Linked DNA regions of Homo sapiens: region 2 is linked to region 1. The links are contacts of gene promoters, found by promoter capture Hi-C in human tissues and cell types (Jung and others, 2019). All regions are on one chromosome and are shown on one strand. Each heading gives the region's core, a stretch centred on a gene start or on the middle of the fragment in contact. The rest is flanking DNA. Distances are from core to core; before and after follow the strand shown.

The links. The method cuts DNA at HindIII sites, captures the fragments that hold promoters and counts their contacts. A contact is called where the count stands out against the background at its distance.
Region 2: a contact is called between a fragment that was not itself captured here and the fragment with the promoter of TMEM233 in region 1, in 4 of the 25 tissues and cell types used here (H1 embryonic stem cells, dorsolateral prefrontal cortex, spleen and 1 more).

Annotation. Positions count from the first base shown.
Region 1 is chr12:119,592,148-119,595,709 of GRCh38, reverse strand. TMEM233 (transmembrane protein 233) reads right to left here and starts at 1,936. Exons shown (of 3, transcript NM_001136534.3): 1 at 1,676-1,936. The coding sequence starts at 1,861. All of the region lies in intron 1 of PRKAB1-AS1 (PRKAB1, TMEM233 and CCDC60 antisense RNA 1), which reads left to right. RefSeq lists an enhancer at 1,375-1,948. The HindIII fragment of the contact is 2,865 bases long and covers 1-2,674 here.
Region 2 is chr12:119,515,425-119,518,986 of GRCh38, reverse strand. CCDC60 (coiled-coil domain containing 60) reads right to left here. Exons shown (of 14, transcript NM_178499.5): 8 at 2,280-2,364. All of the region lies in intron 2 of PRKAB1-AS1 (PRKAB1, TMEM233 and CCDC60 antisense RNA 1), which reads left to right. Among named protein-coding and RNA genes, the nearest start is that of TMEM233, 77 kb to the left of the region's middle. The HindIII fragment of the contact is 3,029 bases long and covers 262-3,290 here.

The sequences.
Region 1 (3,562 bases), core at 687-3,186:
GATTTTGTAAAGATACCGTGCTGGTCACTGTTCTAAGCACTTTACAATTATTTATGTCATGAATGCTCCCAACAACCCCAAGAAACATGGCTATGATTATTCTGGTTTTACAAAGAGACTGAGGTTCAGAGATGCAGTGACTTCAGAGATCACACAGCTAGAAAGTGGGAGAATTGGGATTTGAATACAGACTTGTCTGAACTTCAGCGGCTGCACGCTTTCATATCGGTGCAGACGCTGTCCACAAACCGGGTTTGGGAAAGGGCAAGTTACGGGTGCAAATGGAGCCTTGCAGGTGCCCACGAATCGAATATGGTGCCACCACCCGTGGGCAAGTGTGGGCGGACTTGATGGGGGACGGGTGGCTAGCGATTTTCACAGCGCTGAATCAGGGCTCTGCGTCTGTGGCCGGGGAGTTCCGTGGCCCAGCTGCAGGCGAGGTGAGCCGGTGGGGGAGGGAGCGCAACTGCAAGGGTTGTCCCGGGACAGTGCCGGTACGAACCTCACCCCGCCGCCACCCCCGGGCCAGCTGCTGCAGTCAATAAGGCGAGGGCCTAGCAGGCGCTCGTCGCCCTCCTGGTGGGGTTCGCTCGGGTGTTCCTACCAGGGTTGAAGAGGGCTAGGGAGCTGAGCTCCGGAAGGGCGGACTAGAGGCCCCAGCGGCCACTCCTAGAGAGGCGGGCAGCTCGGGAGGTCTGAGCGCAGAGGGCGGGCGGAGCCGCACGTTGCGTGGAATCCCCTAGTTCATTCCCGGGAGAGCCCCGGGCGCAGGACAGAGCGGTGGAGGGGCGCCTGGGAGCTCTGGGGGACACCAAGAGAAGAGAGGTTAGGGCCAGTGCGCAGCAAACGGGGAGGAACTACGACGCGCTGGGTAGAAAGAGTAAGAGAGGCGCACCCACTTTGCTGGTGAGGGGGGCACACGGGGAGCCTAAGAAAGGCCTAAAGAGGTAGTGGGTGTGAGCCAGCCTCGGGCGCGTTAAAAAGGGGGCGCCGGAGGGAGGCAAGGAGAGGAAGTTGGGTGTAGGAAGAAGCGAGAGGAAACTGTTGCCTGGACAGAGCGTGCCGTGCCAAAGCGCGGAAACGGGATCAAGGAGGGGGCATCAGGAATCGCCTGGGGACCCCCCGGAGAGTGGCGGAAGCGGTGCCCTTGGGCGCAGCAAAGAGAGAAGGGAGCACAGGCTGAGATAGAGACAGTCCTGGGCGCTGGAGAGCAGGAGCCCCCGGAGCGGCAGGGAAAGGAACGTAGAGCCTGCATGCTCGGGGTATGAGCTTACTGCGCTCGCTAGGGTGGCGCGCACTGGGGCTCTAGAAAAGAGGGTTGAGAAGCCCCGGGCAAGTGCCTAGGAAGGTCAGAGGAGTCAGCAAAGTCCACGGAAGAACTTCCCCGGGTTGGAGAGGAAACGCACCCTGGGAGCTGGAAAGAAGAGGAAAGCTAGCCTGGGGGAAGCTTGATCAGGGCTCTGAGTACCACGAGGAGTGCAGAGGAGGTGCTGATGATTGCGGGGAGAGCTCTGAGAGCCCGAGAAAGGTGAGGAGGAGGTGCGAGGACAAAGAACACCTAGCGCGGGCCGGGCCGTGAGGAAGGGAGCCGCAGAGAGCGCGCGGACTCCCCTGCAGGGGCTCAAAGCCGCCCGGGTCTCTCCTCCCAGGCTGCCTCTGGCCGTGATTCACTCACCATGATGGAAAAGACCAAAGCCACGATGTTGATGGGGTACGCAGGGCAAAAACACGAGACGATGGTGAGCCACAGGTAGTTCTTGGGCATGGGCACGTCCTCCTCGGTCTTGTCATCTTCAGTGTTGGCCTCGGGACTGCTGTCCAAAGCCCTCTTGAAGTCCGGGCTAGGGGCGTACTGAGACATGGGCGAGGCCGGCGGCGCCGGGAGGGCGGAGGAGCGCACGGTCTGTGTGGTCTGGGGCTCTGGCCGCCGGCTTGTGGCGAGGCTCTGAAAAGCCAGCGGCTCGGGGCTCAAGGGAGACGTGACCTCACCCCTTCTGCGTCCTCTGCCAGCACCCGCCCGGGCTCAGGGACCCTGGCCAAGAGCCTCCCCACAAGGAGGAAGGGAGGGAGAAAAGGAGTGAGGGGAGGCGGGGAGGACAGCGGGAGCGTCAGCCTGAGGAACAGGGAACAGGCAGATGAAGGCACCCCACTCCCTGAGATCGTCGGAGGGACGCACAGACTCACACTGAGAAGTCTGGAATAAAAGGAGGCTCAGGGAAGGAGGACGCAAAGGCCCATTAAGTTCCAAATTGGCCAGCCCGTGGGCTGAAGATGACCAGCTCATTTTTAAAAGCCACTTAATTCTAATACATTTAGATGGGACAGGACCAACCCTATCCAGTTGGCAACAGACTCACTACTTCCTCTTGACTTCAACGTTTTACCTTAACTGTCTGGTGCCTGGGCATTTGATTTGTCTCCTGTGCCTCAGACCTTGAACACTGAGCCCCAGGAATTTCTCCTCCCCCCGACCCCCTCCCCCAGGTGGGGTGGGAACCAGGTGCCCAGCTTTGGCCTCAAAGCTTTCCACATTCTACTTGGGGCTCAAGAGACTGGAGTCCAGTATAGTCAGTCAGTGGGCACTGCCCGGTCCATGCCCGTCCAGGTGCCCTCCCCAGTGTGGAAACAAGGAATTCTTCTTTCCACTTTTCCACCTGCAGGACCCCTGGGGAGAAATGCAGGTAGATCAGGCTGGCCTAGGCAACCTAGATGGATGAGTGGGCTGGGAAGAAGAACAAGGTATCCACTTTGGGGACTAGTGTGAGAAAAGCAATTGTATCAGTGTCTAAGCTATTCATGAGAGGGCCGTATGGACCAGAACTGAAGCTTGAATCCAGACAGAACTAGGAAATTGTCACTTCAGGAAAGCCCCTTCATCTTGCTAAGCCCCTATTTCTCCATCTGAAAAAGGGGAAATAATAGTCCCTGCCTCATAAAGTCGTAGTGACTCTTCTATGAGATGGTACATTATCCAGGTCAATCCATGTGCTCAATAAATATTAGCTATTATTAGCATACTATTTCTCCTTATATTCTGAAACATATAGTGCATTATACAGTATCCTAAACTTGATATCCCTTGCTAATATTTCACCAAAAATCCAGGTATTCTGAGCTGCAGGACCACAAAGAAATGAAAATAATTTGATCATGCAGTGTCAAAAGCAATTGCTCACATCATCATACTTGAAACTATTAATCATCTTCTTGGCTTTCTCAGAATATAAGCTGATTGCCTGGGAGATTCTCACTTATCTCATGAGCCATACTTATTTTGTTATCTGCCTCCCTCATTGGACTGCACACTCCCCGAGAGAAGGGGTCATCTGGCTCATCTTTGTGTCAGCATCTGGCACAGTTCCTGGTACAAGGGAGGTGCTTAGTATAGCTTGCTGGGTGAACACACAAAGATGAAATAGTACATTCTCCGCCATGCCTTCTTTCTCATTTTGATGGATTAATAAAATGGGAGTAACTAAAAGATTAGATTCATCTACTGAATTCTCAACCAAGTCTTTGCATTGGCTGTTCCCTCTGCCTCGGCTGTTTTTCCCTGGCTGTC
Region 2 (3,562 bases), core at 527-3,026, 77 kb after region 1:
AGGAAGGGAAACTTCAACACATTCTTGCTCTGTAACCATGGTTATTTTATCATTAAATTGAAAGCAGAGGCCATGTGATGGTCTCATGAGAGCCAGGGTCTAGAGTGGTTTTGTCTTTGAAGACCTTATGGAAGTCACTGCTTGTTGCTCTTTGACATATATGGGATGGGGTGATGGTAATGGTGAATGTACCTGTCTCAGCAGGAGAAGATTCCATGGGGCAACATGTGTGAGATAAAAGTAACAACCGTCCCCACCACCATCCCCACCACCAACCTCACTGCCATTTATTGAATACTTACTCTATGCCAGGCACATGCTAATATGTTAAATAAATGCATTATCTGATTAAGTGCTTAAAATGTTTCATTGAACTAGATGTTATTTCCATAACATTAGTAATATTTTACAGGGATAATATTATCTTATTCTCACTACAACCCTTTGGGATTGGCTGCTAATGAGCCTCATTTTACAGAATGAGAATCAGACTCAGAGAGGTGAAGCAACTTGCCCAACATAACCCGGCAATTAGTCATGGCCATGGAGCCTGACCTTAGTTTGTCTGGTTCCAAAGCCAAGCTTTGATGCGACACAATCTCATTTTACAGATGAGAAAACAGAGGTTTAGAGAAAGGCTAGATGACTTGTCCAAGGGCAATAGGTTTTGGATCCACATCAGTCTGACTCCAAAGCCAGTGCTTGTGCTGTGGGTTCTTACAAAGGAAGGAGCCTCATTGAGCTGATGCTTCATTATTATTGTCTGTCTCTAATGCTTATAAATCAGGCACAGCAGTGGGGGCCTTATGGGTCAGCATTGTCTCTGAGTGCCTCCAAGTGCCACCTTCCAGAGCAGCCCCAATGAGAGTTGAGGCAGCAGCCAGCGAATTCATCATTCACAAGCAGAGGCGAGGTGTGATGCATGTGAAAGTGCGCAGTGAACTGTAATTGTGGTAATAACAATAACCAATAAGTCATAGTTGGCATCCCAGTGGGCTGAAGGTGATGATGAACCTCTTCTAGTGCCTCATTTATTTTCAGGAAGGAATTTGCTTACTCAAAGGAATCCACACCTGGGAAGGGAGCTCTGGCTCTAGGCTGTGTGCTCTCTGGGGCTTTTAGAGGTCAGAAGTCTGTGGACGAGGCTTCCCACCAGAAAGCGGATGTCTTAGGTTCAAGTCTGATAGTACCTCCTTATGAGCTAATCATATCGGTTGCTGGCTTGAAACTTCAAAGGATTCCCGCTGCTCTTAGAATAAAAACCAGAATCCTTGAGTTTCATCCCTTTTTGGCTGCATTTCAGTTCCCTGAAGGTGTTGTGGTCCCTTTTGACCACGTTTGCACATGTGCTGCCTATAATACTCTCTTCCCCACCTCCCTACCCGCCCATGCCAGCCTCATCAGGCTGGCTCATTTACATGCTTTATCCAAATCTCAGCTTAAAGCTTCTTCCTTGGAGGAAACTTCTCTGATCCCCATCCCCAACCCAGACTAGGTCAAATGCCATTATTATTTGTTCTCACAGTTTCAAGCTTTCCTTTAATGGACACTTCTCACAATAATAATGAGTACACAGCCCATACATGTTCATAAATATTCACTCAAAGGAGGAATGAATAACCAGAAGATTCCTGAGAAGCAGTGTGGCAGAATGGCAAAGAGAATGGTTTTTGGAATTAGAAATGTCTGGATTTGCCAGGTATGGTGATTCACATCTGTAATCCCAGCATTTTGGGAGGCCGAGGTGGGAGGATCACTTAAGCCATGAGTTTGAGGCCAGCCTGGGCAGTATAGCGAGACCCTGTCTCTACAAAATAATAATAAAAAAAAAATTAGCCAGATGTGGTGGTGTGTGCCTGTAGTCCCAGCTACGTGGGAGGCTGAGTTGGGAGGATCACTTGAGTCCAGGAGTTGGAGGCTGCAGTGAGCTATGATTGTGCCACTGCACTTCAGCTTGGGCAACAGAGCGAGACCCTGTCTCAGAGACAAAAATAAATTGGTAAGAAAGGTCTAGATTAGAGTCATGGCCTTATCATTCACTAGCTGAGTGACCTTGAACTAGTCACATAGGCTCTCTGAGCCTCATTTCTTGATTTGTAAAATAAAGATAATAGTACCTACCTTGTAGGATTATTGTAAGAACTCAGAGAGGTGATACACATAAACAACACAGCTCAGTGCCTGTCACAGAGAAAATGCTCAACAGTTGGCAACTACTACTGTTAATGTGATTGCTATTATTCTAAGCTTTATTTGCCCCAGGAGTCAAGAGCACATACCTGGGTGCTTTTCTTTGCATCCCATTTTCTATTGTGACTGTCCTCCGGGCATCTTCCCGAACCATCTCCAGGAGCTTCTGCAGATCTGATGAGAATATGAGAGGTCACCCTTGACCAGAAGCCACCCCTGAGACAGGATTGTGCAGAACAGGGTGCAGCCCCCCAAACTGGGGTCACCTCTGCTCCTGAGGGTTGGAGATCTGGAGAGAGATTCCACTGGGGTCCAGAAGAGGTGGCTGATAGTGTTGGGCATGTTGCAAATCTGACCATGCCACGCCCCTGCTTAAAACCCATCAGTGGTTCTGTGTTACGTTTGGCTAATGCCTGTAATGCCAGTACTTTGAGAGGTCAAGGCAGGTGGATCACTTGAGGCCAGGAGTTTGAAACCAGCCTGGCCAACATGGTGAAACCCTACCTCTACAAAAAATACAAAAATCAGCTGGGCGTGGTGGTGGATGTCTGTAATTTCAGCTTCTCAGGGGGCTGAGGCATGAAAATTGCTTGAACCTGAGAGGCAGAGGTTGCAGCGAGCCGAGATCATGCCACTGCACTCCAGCCTGGGTGATACAGTTAGACTCTGAATCAAAATAATAACAATAATAATAAAATAAAAAATAAAACATAAATAAATTCTTTCAACACAGCCTGTGAGGCCTGCCAGGATCCAGCTTCTCTTTTTATCCCCCATTTCATCTCCCTTCCCTTCCCCACCTTAAACTCTACTGCAGCCAGAGAGAACTGTTTCCAAAGCTGAGAATAAATCATCTTGCTCAGGAAACCTTCTCTGATCTCCATAGGCCTGAAGTTTTAAACCAGCAATCCACAGGCTGAATTCAGCTTACAAATGTGTTTTATTTGATTCCATGTGGATGCCAATCTTTTAACACTGGAAGATTTCACATGAAAATCCAGACCTCCAGCTTCCCTAGAAAGGAGTCTGAGATGGGACTACACTGCCCCCATTCCTGCTGCATGCTGGACGTGCCTTTAGATAGGCGACTGCTCTCTAGCTCCCCACAGCTCCCACCACCCCTCCTTGCCTTGGCCTAGCTTTTATTTTCATATTTAATATTGATTTTGGCTGGGTGCAGTGGCTCACACCTATAATCTCAGCACTTTGGGAGGCCGGGGTGGGAGGATTGCTTGAGTTCAGGAGTTCGAGGCCAGCCTGGGCAACATGGAGAAACCACCATTTCTACTAAAACAAAAATATAAAAAGATTAGCTAGGCATGGTGGGGTAAACTTGTATTCCCAGCTACTCAGGAGGCTGAGGTGGGAGAAT